Linked DNA regions of Homo sapiens: regions 1, 2 and 4 are each linked to region 3. The links are contacts of gene promoters, found by promoter capture Hi-C in human tissues and cell types (Jung and others, 2019). All regions are on one chromosome and are shown on one strand. The core of a region is centred on a gene start or on the middle of the fragment in contact, and the rest is flanking DNA. Distances in the headings are between cores, read along the strand shown. Region 1 overlaps RBFOX2 (RNA binding fox-1 homolog 2). Region 2 overlaps RBFOX2 (RNA binding fox-1 homolog 2). Region 3 holds the start of HMOX1 (heme oxygenase 1). Region 4 overlaps RBFOX2 (RNA binding fox-1 homolog 2).

Region 1 (2,700 bases), core at 169-2,668, 580 kb after region 3:
TAAAATGACAGGCTTGCTTCATTTTTTTTTTTTTAATTAAGACAGGGTCCTGCTCTGTTGCCCAGCCTGGAGTGCAATGGTACAATCTCAGCTCACAGCAACCTCCACCTCCTGGGTTCAAGCAATTTTCCCACCTCAGCCTCCCAGGTAGCTGGGACTACAGGCACATGCCAGCACACCCGGCTAATTTTTGTATTTTTAGTAGAGACGGGGTTTCACCATGTTGGCCAGGATGGTCTCGATCTCCTGACCTCATGATCCCCCGCCTCAGCCTCCCAAAGTGCTGGGATTACAGGTGTGAGCCACTGCGCCTGGCCACCTCATTCATTTTTAATAAAACGTCCGAATACCATAGTCTATCAGTTGTTCTTTCAAATAAAAATGGCATCCCATGAAAAAAGTTCAGCTGGCAACTCAATCACAGAAGCAGTTTTCCTTTAGATAACTGTCATACTTAGTATGCAGCAGAAGTGCTTTATTTGTATTACCCATTTTGCCAAAGAGATTATTTAAAAGATTCATAACCGAGGATGGAGAATTAGTAATAGTAATAATTTTTACTACTTCAGCAGGAACACTGAAGTGAAACTGTCTTTCTCCCCTTCTTTAACTGTTAAGTGTTTGGTGGTGAAGAACATAACTACTCAGTCGTCATTACATTCTTTGGTACAGGCAGTTTGTGGCATAATAAGCCCATGTCCTAGTTTTGGCCTGTCACAGTAGCATGTGTAGTGAGGTATGGGGGAAAGTACAGTTATTAGAATCACACTGATCTACGTCTCTGGTAACCAACTAGCTCTATGGCTGTGGAAAGCTAATTCATCTCTCAGCCTCAAATTCTTCCATCTTTAAATGAGAATACTACCTACCTCATAGGATTGTTACAAGGATTGAGGTAATACATGCAATATCTTACACAGTGCCTGTTCCTTAATGGGGTGGCCCTGTTAACAATAATAATAAGAAGAAACAGTATCTTAGTTGTATGTAACACTTCACCACATACCAACACACAGGCAGTTCTGACTAGTACAGGACCACAGATTATGAGGGGACCCATAGGGATCATCTAATTCTAATTCAGCTACTTTACTTGCACCCTCCTTACCTTGCAACCATATTCACATAGCACAGACTGACCTTACAGATAAGAAAACCAATGTACCACAAGGTTTTAAATGTCTTTCTCAAGGTTACAGAGCTAGTCTAAGAAGCAGAAATTGGTGTCAAGCACATCCTCCTACTCATAACAATTCTGTTAGATAGATAACATTATTCTCTTTTGATTGATAATGGAAACTCAGGTTCATTCCCTTGAGTTTCAAGTGACATGTCCAAGGTCACAAAAACAGGCCTGGAACCCAAGTCCTCTCATTTGTAGTTCTTCCAACCGTAACTTAGAAATCTGTCTAAATACATGATTCACTCTGTGCAATCATTGATAATTATCTACATCTGGATCTGAATGGAATAACAGACTAACAGACACAATTATGTGAATACTCATTATGACTAAATATGCCAATTGATAACCACCAACAAATCAGTTTGTGTTGTGATATTTCAATTTAAACTGGTGTTTCACTAAACTGAAGACTTCACAAGCTTTGGCATTTAAAAAAACAAAAGATACCTCTTAATTAGCCTCAGAGTATAAAAGAAATACATTTCAAAGGATCATTCTGCAACATTCAAAAAAGTCCCTTTAAGACAGGCTGAGTTGACTATCACAGTCTAAATTTAAATTAACAATTCTACCCCAAAAAAAGTCATTATAGACAAAATAATAAATTTTATTTTAATTGATAGACATTATTTCAATTGAGTTTTATAACAGTCTCTTCACTCACATTGCTATTGAACATGATGTTAAACCAGCTCTGGTGTTTATTAGAGGAACAACTTAGGACAAGTTACTCACCTTTCTGGGCCTCAATTTTATTTTCTGGTCTATAAAATATATGTGATCATGTCTACACCTTGCAAGGATGTTAAGTTTAGGCACAAGGTATACAAAGCACCTGAAAGTATACCTACCCCATAGAGAAAAACTATTATTGTAACAATTTTTATTATATGCTTTGAGTTCACAATCCTGCCTATCCCTAAGTCCATTAAGATCTGGGTAAAACTGGACTTTTCTATTTCCTCCTGCTGCTGTTGCTTCCAATGCCCTACTGGCTACAACTGCCAACTCTCTGACCTAGACTCTCTGCCACCTACTACTAGTGTCCTCAGAGCAAGTCCCTGAACTTCCTTTTATTGTATTAATTCCCTGGTCAGAAAGAAGATAATGCTCATTACTTACCAATTCAGTGATCTTCTGATAATTACCACGTTAATTCTTGCTTGGAACCAATCTAAAAGACTTCAAACAACTTCAAACCTACCGAGGATTTTTTTTCTTGATGCCAAGTTTTAAAAACCAGGAATTACATTTTTTTAAACAAATGGTCAACTATTAAGAATTCATAAAAGAGCTGCCTGTCATATCTCGTTATACTTTGATTCCTGTATCAACTCAATTACTCAAATCCTTTAGTTCTTCATCTTCTAGCCCTCTTAGATAATAGTCTCCATTAAGTAAAAGGCATTTTGCAGAAACAGATAGAGAAAACTATATATATATATATATTGTGTAAAGCTTAGTTTTCTGCAAGTACAATTAAATACTCAAGATAGCTGGGAGAAGGGCAAGAA
Region 2 (2,700 bases), core at 139-2,638, 520 kb after region 3:
ATGCTTGCTTCTGAGAAAGAAAAATCAGATAATCTGGGACAGCAATATGGGTATTGCCAATAATTCTAACCTTGCTTCCTGAATTCCTACATCTCAAAAATGCTGGATTTTGCAATGTGAGTCTGGTGGGCAGAAAGGGTCTGGAGCCACATTTTAGATGCTCTGCCTCTGACTCCAATAATTCAAGAGGCTACTTGTTTTGTTTGTTTTTGAGATGGAGTCTCACTCTGTGGCCCAGGTTGGAGTGCAGTGGCATGATCTCGGCTCACTGCAACCTCCGCCTCCCGGGTTCAAGTGATTCTCCTGTCTCAACCTCCCAAGTGGCTGGGATTACAGGCGCCTGCCACCACACCCAGCTATTTTTGTATTTTTAGTAGAGACAAGGTTTCACCATGTTGGCCAGGCTGGCAGGCTACTTGTTTTATACGAGTTTCTCTGTGGTTGTAAGAGGATAGCGGGGGGAAGTAGGTATACCGGGGGAGCCAGCACAATTTCTCAAAAATGTACCTGAGAAATCAGGCACTAAAAATTCTTCAGAAGAAATCTGAGGCAACCCTCTATACATAGTTTATATTCCTATCACTTCCTGGACTGGTAGAGACAATACAGACTCACCAAAACAACACTGAGGTAGAGAAATGAGATGTATGAGTATTGTCTATGAAGCTGACTTAAAAAAAAAAAAAAAAGTCGAAAGAATGAGGCTCTTTTTCCCTCACTTCCTCTCAGCTTAAAATAGCAGGGATTCCCACAGGGCAATCTCTAACAGAATTCTGCTACTCAAATGTGACACATGGACCAGCAACAGCAGAATGAGCATCAACTGGAAACTCCTTAGATTTGAAGAATCTCAGGCCCCACCCTAGACTTACAAAATCAAAATCATATGATAACAAAAGCCCCAGGTAACTCTCAGGCACACCGAAATCTGAGAAGCTGGTCTAGACAGAGGCACTGGCCACATGCAGCAGTAGCGACTCATGGGAGAAGGCGTAGATATGGCTGCCACTTTCCAGTTAGGGGATGTAAACCACCCTGGAAGACAAAACAGTGAACATTCCTCTCCCACTTGCTGGTTTCAATGTAACACCACCAACCGCTACTATTTACTCAGAGCATATTATGTGCCACAACTTTGCATGCATTATCTCATTGCATCTTCACAATATCTCTGTAAGACAGGCCCTGTTATCTTTTTCACAGATCAAAGGAAATTGAGGCCCAAAGTGGTTACATAATATACTCATGGTCTCACAGCTAGTGAATAAAGAGCCAAAAGTTCAACGTTCGTTTTTAAGACTCCAAGATCATTTCCACTAAATCATACCTATTCACTGACAAAACTGAATCAAGACTGGAAAAAAAATCACTGAAAAACTTACCCTGGATATAAATAACCCTGCACTCTACCTCTGCCCATTACCAAGACTTTAAATAACAAATGAAGCCAGGTGTGGTGATGTGAGCCTGTAATCCTAGCTTCTCAGGAGGCTGAGGCAGGAGGGTTTGCTTGAGCTCAGGAGTTTGAGACCAGCCTGGGCAACATAGTAAAACTCTCATCTCAAGAAAAAAGTAAAAAACAACAACAAACGACAGAGATAGGGTTTGGGAGTTGGTGTACACATACTGTACTTGTGCACTGGCCAAAACACTGCTACTACTGATGTCATTCAGAGAATAGACCCAGAAACTTCTGTGAATGGTGGTTACCTTCTATGATGTCTAAACTAAGCTCTAGATGTATATATACATGGAGAAAGCGGTCCATCTCAAAGCTAGCCTCTTGGGAAAGGCAATTAAGTGATTTGTTAGAGCTCTTACTCCCAGTTATTAGGAAACCCAGAGCTACCACCCCTAAAACAGAAGACTGCATTATCTTGGCTGGGCGCGGTGACTCACACCTATAATCCCAGCAATTTGGGAGGCTGAGGCAGGCGGATCACTTGAGTTCAGGAGTTCAAGACCAGCCTGGCCAACATGGTGAAACCCCATCTCTGCTGAAAATACAAAAATTAGCCAGGTGTGGTGGTGCATCTGTAGTCTCAGCTACTCAGGAGGCTGAGGCAGGAGAATCGCTTGAACCCTAGAGGCAGAGGTTGCAGTCAGCTGAGAATGCACCACTGCACTCCAGCCTGGGCGACAGAGTGAGACTCTGTCTCAAAAAAAAAAGAGAAGAAAAGCTGCATCATCTTAAAAGACCCATCTTTCCTTATTACGTTTCAATTATACTCTCAAAGAACTTCCCTTACTTCTAACTAGCTTTCTCTGGTATCCCCTCCCTACAATTTTTGACGTCATGAAGTCCTCCCATCCCAACCACTTTTCCATTATCTACCCACTCCGGTTCTGCACCCTCTTTGTCCAATTTTGATGCCGTGTTCCATAATTACAATCTCTCCCTTGCAAATACCCTCAATCATTTGTCCTCTCCATCACTGCCACCTGACACAACTCCAATCCTGGTTAAATCCAATTGTCTGCCTTTTCTAGTGCCTATGCCCAATCAGCTGAATGTTGCTGAAGAAAAATCACATAACCAAGCTGACTGACTTCACTATATATTCATGATCACAAACCTCAAATGGACACTCAACGATGCCAAGCAATCCACCAAAGCTGCCCTTGAAAGCTTTCCTACTCCCCAAAATGACTATTTCTTGCTTCTCCTCAAACCTCCCTCATTCACTCTTCACTACCTAC
Region 3 (2,700 bases), core at 71-2,570:
GCTCACTCCAGCCTCTACATCCCAGGCTCAAGTGAACCTCCAGCCTCAGCCTCCCAAGTAGCTGGGACCACAGGCATGTGCCACCATGCCCAGCTAATTTATTTTATATTTTGTAGAGACAGGGTCTCCCTATGTTGCCCAGGCCAGTCTCGAACTCAAAGCAATCTTCCCACCTCGACTGGGCTCAAAGCGCTCTTCCCACCTCAACCTCCCAAAGTACTGGGACTACAGGTGTGAGCTACCATGCCAGGCCTGAAAGCCATCTTAAAAAAAAAATCTTAGAATGAGAATCACAGTATTGGGAAAGGACTGTATGAATCATCTGGTCCATTCGTTTTGTCCTCTGGGTTCACCCAGTGACCCTATTTCCCCCGAGTTCTAAGGAGTCCACCTCATGCAGAATTGATTCAATAGGCGATCAGCAAGGGCCAGCTCTGCTCTGGGCCCTGAGCAGGCACTGAGTATAAGTCAGACCTGAATGTGCCTGGAAGAGTGTCCCACGCATTCCAGCAGGGAAGCAGTTTGTATGACAGGTGTCCCAGTCCAGGCGGATACCAGGTGCTGCCAGAGTGTGGAGGAGGCAGGCGGGGACTTAGTCTCCTCCCTGGGTTTGGACACTGGCATCCTGCTTTATGTGTGACACCACTGCACCCCTCTGAGCCTCGGTTTCCCCATCTGTAAAATAGAAGCGATCTACCCTCACAGGTCAGTTGTAGGGATGAACCATGAAAATACTAGAGTCTCTGTTTTTTGACAGGAACTCAAAAAACAGATCCTAAATGTACATTTAAAGAGGGTGTGAGGAGGCAAGCAGTCAGCAGAGGATTCCAGCAGGTGACATTTTAGGGAGCTGGAGACAGCAGAGCCTGGGGTTGCTAAGTTCCTGATGTTGCCCACCAGGCTATTGCTCTGAGCAGCGCTGCCTCCCAGCTTTCTGGAACCTTCTGGGACGCCTGGGGTGCATCAAGTCCCAAGGGGACAGGGAGCAGAAGGGGGGGCTCTGGAAGGAGCAAAATCACACCCAGAGCCTGCAGCTTCTCAGATTTCCTTAAAGGTTTTGTGTGTGTGTGTGTGTGTGTGTGTGTGTGTATGTGTGTGTGTGTGTGTGTGTGTGTGTGTTTTCTCTAAAAGTCCTATGGCCAGACTTTGTTTCCCAAGGGTCATATGACTGCTCCTCTCCACCCCACACTGGCCCGGGGCGGGCTGGGCGCGGGCCCCTGCGGGTGTTGCAACGCCCGGCCAGAAAGTGGGCATCAGCTGTTCCGCCTGGCCCACGTGACCCGCCGAGCATAAATGTGACCGGCCGCGGCTCCGGCAGTCAACGCCTGCCTCCTCTCGAGCGTCCTCAGCGCAGCCGCCGCCCGCGGAGCCAGCACGAACGAGCCCAGCACCGGCCGGATGGAGCGTCCGCAACCCGACAGGCAAGCGCGGGGCGCGGGACGCGGGACGGGCGCCTTTCTCTCCCAACCCTGCTTGCGTCCTAGCCCCACCCCGGGACACTGCCACACAGCGACAGAGCCCAGGAGCCAGAAACTTGGGCTCTGGAGTCAGGAGGTGCGGGGTTCTGATCCTGCCTGTGCCCGTAGGGTAGTTGGAGGGAGGAACGGTAATTTACATGCCTGGCACCCTGGTATGCGGTTGGTGACCAAGATGGGAGTGTCCCTAGAGTATCCAGTCTTTGAGGTAGCCAATTTTTTTTTTAATCCTACTTTCGAGGTGTGTTTGGAGTTGCTCTCTGCTGAATCTAGATCTCTGGGGCTCTGCCAGCCTGGGGGAGCATGCTTGGTTCTCTTGGTGGCATCTGTCCCTCACTAGCTACGGAGGACCTGAGCCAGACATCACCCTGGCTGCGGTGTTCCATGTCTCACAGATAGCCCAGTTCAGGGAGGCGACATGCCCAAGAGTGCTCAGTTAGCTGGTGTCAGAACTGGGCCTTGAACCTTGGTCTGCCCACCTCCAGGTCTCACTCATTCCCTTCTTTCAATAATTTGTTAGTATTTTTTTTTTTAACTCCTGGGCTTAAGCATCCTCCCACCTCAGCCTCCAGAGTAGCTGGGACTTACAGACATGTGCCATTTCTCCTGAGACTTTGACCAGCTGTGTTGTAGAACAGGGAAGCAGGGCAGGAGAAAAGGGAAAAATGACAATTCTGTGGGGAGGCAGGGATACGGACCCATGACAGAAATACTCCCAGAAAGACTTTTTCTTTGACTAAAGCAGACTTTCTCAGGCTTTTTAACCCTGACGCCTTCATGATGAGCATAACATGATAGGGGGTCATGAGATTTGCATCTGGAACTTTAACAAAATAACTGAATTAAATATTGGGTCTAAAAGCCAATCAAAGCAATTACAAACTTGGAGATGCCGGTTCATGGGGCTGCTGCTTCTTCCTGGGTTATGCTGTACCTCCTCCTCCTCTCCACTGCGAACTACCTGTACCAGGATTTCCCCCTTGGTTTGGGGGACTGTATTATTTAGTGTTTTAATGACTGAAGAGTGTTTACAAAGCTGCGAGAGCCACCATGCCCAGCCTGAATTTGTTTTTTGTTTTTTGTTTTTTTGTTTTTTTGCTTTTTTGCTTTTCTTTTTTTGAGATGGAGTGTTGCTCTGTTGCCCAGGCTGGAGTGCAGTGGCGCGATCTCGGCTCACTGCAACCTCTGCCTCCTGGGTTCAAGCGATTCTCCTGCCTCAGCCTCC
Region 4 (2,781 bases), core at 178-2,677, 550 kb after region 3:
TGACTGCTAAAAGGTATGGGGTTTCTTGTGTCCCGGCATGGAAGCTTACGGCTGTAATCCCAGCACTTTGGGAGGTTGAGGCGGGTGGAACGCATGAACTCAGGAGTTCAAGACCAACCTGGGCAACATGGTGAAACCCCATCTCTACCAAAAATACAAAAACTAGCTGGGCATGGAGGTGCACACCTGCGGTCCCAGCTACTCAGGAGGCTGAGGTAGGAGGACCACTTGAGCCTGGGAGGTGGAGGTTGCAATGAGCAGAGATCATGCCACTGCACTCCAGCCTAGGTGACAAAGTGAGACTCCATCTCAAAAAAATAAAGGCATGAGGTTTCTTTAAGGTTGCATTTTTAAGGAATGTAAGTATTAGAACAATGTTTTTCAAACAGGTTGCAATCCATTAGTGGGTCCAGGAAAAATCCAGCAGAAATCAATTTTGGTCAATCGTTAGTCACAATCGACAATTTTTTGAAGGGGACAGAAAATATCACAGTACTTAGAACATGGTTAAGATAGGCAGCATTTGGTAAGACTAATTCTAAGTTATAGTCAACATATATGTATGTGTGTATACTGGGTCATGACATAAAAGCAACTGCCTCCTTGGGGTCAGTCTTTTTTTAAGCTCAAAAGCACTAAGCTAGAACCTGAACACACTTACCATGTCCTCCATTCCACCAACTATCCCCGAGGGAAGAAAAGTAGTCATCATTTCTTCAATCAAGCCAAATGAGCACTACAGAAGATATATTTGCTGTTGTCCACAGCTCCCAATAAAAAAAAAGCCTTGAAAGTTCATTGCAAAAATTTGACTAAAATAAAGTTCATTTTCTACCCATGAAAAAACTGGTTAGAAAAAAGAAAAAAAAAATCTTGAGGAAAGAAAATACTTGTTAAGAAAAGAAACCCTTAGGTCATTTTAAATTTACCCTCTTATTAAAAGTAAGGCTGCCACTCTGAATTTAAATCTATAATTGTCTATGTTATATTTGTCAACTTAAGCATCTCCTTTGATGTTCCCACTTGTTTCTGCTAATCAATGGGACATTGTGTCTTTCAACAGAATTTTAGAAAATTGAAGAAAAAAATATAGTTTTGAGAAGTCATTGACAAGCATTTTAAACATCAAAGAATGGGCCCCGCGTGGTGGTTCACATCTGTAATTCCAGCACTTTGGGAGGCTGAGGTGAGCAGATCACCTGAGGTCAGAAGTTTGAGATCAGCCTGGCCAACATGGCAAAACACTGTCTCTACTAAAAATACAAAAATTAGCCAGGCTTAGTGTCGCATGTCTGTAATCCCAGCTACTCAGGAGGCTGAGGCAGAAGAATCACTTGAACCCGGGAGGCAAATGTTGCAGTGAGCCAAGATTGCGCCACTTCATTCCAGCCTGGGCAACAGAGTCTCAAAAAAATTGACAACATGACATTTTTCTTTGTATTTAAAATATGAAAAGATAAAATTTAGATCATAAGTTATTTTAACAAACAAGATAGAAAACTTGACAGAAATAAGTTACTCAAGAACTTTCAAGTCATATGAAGACTTCATGCTCCCACATTCTCCAAAGATTCCAGAATATCTTATCTTGTCACACCAGCAAAAGAACACTTATATTCAGAGAGACACTGACAGACAAATACAAAAGGGAAATACAAGACATGGAGGCTGAAAATCGGGGTTCAAGTCCAATTCTTTACTTACTACCTATATAACTAAGACTGGGAGATTCATTTGACAGTCTCTGTGCTTTGGTATTCTTTTATCTATAAAATTGGGATAATAAAGCCCAAGCCACCTAGCTGAACTATTGTGAAGATCAAAAGTGGATATACACAGGAGGGTTTTGTAAACTGTAAAGCAGTTAGCAGATATTAGTTGGGTTTTTTGTGTACCACAAATATATACATTTGTATTCATCAATTAATAAACAAAATAGTACACTACAGCTTAAATAATTTTTAATGATGAAATAATGAAAGCTTTCAACACTTAGTTTTGCAAGTATCCCACTGCTGAACATCCCTTACTTGGTTAGGCCACCCCAATGAAGCAAAACAAATTATCTCTAGTTTGTGTGTATCTGTTCTAATCCTCTTCCCTACCCATCCCCCAAACCGAGTTGACTCTAAAACAATAGAACAAAATTTAGTCAAGTAACCACTAAGGAGATACAAAATTGATGAAACAAAAGTAAGTCTTCCCTGTGGTTGATTAAAGTATAAGCCTCTTTTAATCAATTAACTTGTTAAATTAACTAATGTTCTCCAGTTCCCAAGTCTAATAAAGGGACGCTTTTAACAGTCTTAAACCACCTAAAACTAGTAAACAACTCTCTCCTATTTGCCCCCAAGCCCTTTCTTCTCCCAGTAGCTGAGTTGTATGCTTACCAAAAATCACTTGTGTTTATTCACCTGCCAGTTTATAGAAGTCGTAAGTTCTTATAATTATATAATTAAATGTTATATATATATATATATATATATATATACACACATCAATGAAATAAATTAGAAAATTTCCTTGAAAATAACTAATGTGAATGCTTTGTGAAAAATAAGTCAAGACACTGAAAACTTAGGCTCAAATTAGATGTGGGCAGGATAACTGTAAAAGACCGGGCAAGAAGGGAAAACCATACAAATCTAGATAGACAGTTTCACCCAAATTGCTCTGAATGTCATCAAGACCGTGTTCCTCTTTAAAAAAAAAAACAAATTAGAACTCACAGATGATGCTCTGGGAGCACAGTTTATGCAAAAAATTCAAGTAGTATTTCAA

What was found. Contacts are between HindIII fragments. The study calls those that stand out against the background at their distance.
Region 1: a fragment that was not itself captured here is called in contact with the fragment with the promoter of HMOX1 in region 3 in 2 of the 25 tissues and cell types used here (bladder and heart left ventricle).
Region 2: a contact is called between a fragment that was not itself captured here and the fragment with the promoter of HMOX1 in region 3, in 2 of the 25 tissues and cell types used here (aorta and lymphoblastoid cells).
Region 4: a fragment that was not itself captured here is called in contact with the fragment with the promoter of HMOX1 in region 3 in 1 of the 25 tissues and cell types used here (dorsolateral prefrontal cortex).

Annotation. Positions count from the first base shown.
Region 1 is chr22:35,956,342-35,959,041 of GRCh38, forward strand. All of the region lies in intron 1 of RBFOX2 (RNA binding fox-1 homolog 2), which reads right to left. Among named protein-coding and RNA genes, the nearest start is that of RBFOX2, 71 kb to the right of the region's middle. The HindIII fragment of the contact is 3,101 bases long and covers 1-2,700 here.
Region 2 is chr22:35,899,921-35,902,620 of GRCh38, forward strand. The region is part of intron 2 of RBFOX2 (RNA binding fox-1 homolog 2); the gene reads right to left. Among named protein-coding and RNA genes, the nearest start is that of RBFOX2, 130 kb to the right of the region's middle. The HindIII fragment of the contact is 4,689 bases long and covers 1-2,700 here.
Region 3 is chr22:35,379,776-35,382,475 of GRCh38, forward strand. It overlaps HMOX1 (heme oxygenase 1), which reads left to right and starts at 1,321. Exons shown (of 5, transcript NM_002133.3): 1 at 1,321-1,421. The coding sequence starts at 1,399. RefSeq lists silencers at 1,042-1,121, 1,422-1,591. The HindIII fragment of the contact is 25,740 bases long and covers 1-2,700 here.
Region 4 is chr22:35,931,464-35,934,244 of GRCh38, forward strand. All of the region lies in intron 2 of RBFOX2 (RNA binding fox-1 homolog 2), which reads right to left. Among named protein-coding and RNA genes, the nearest start is that of RBFOX2, 96 kb to the right of the region's middle. The HindIII fragment of the contact is 3,064 bases long and covers 1-2,781 here.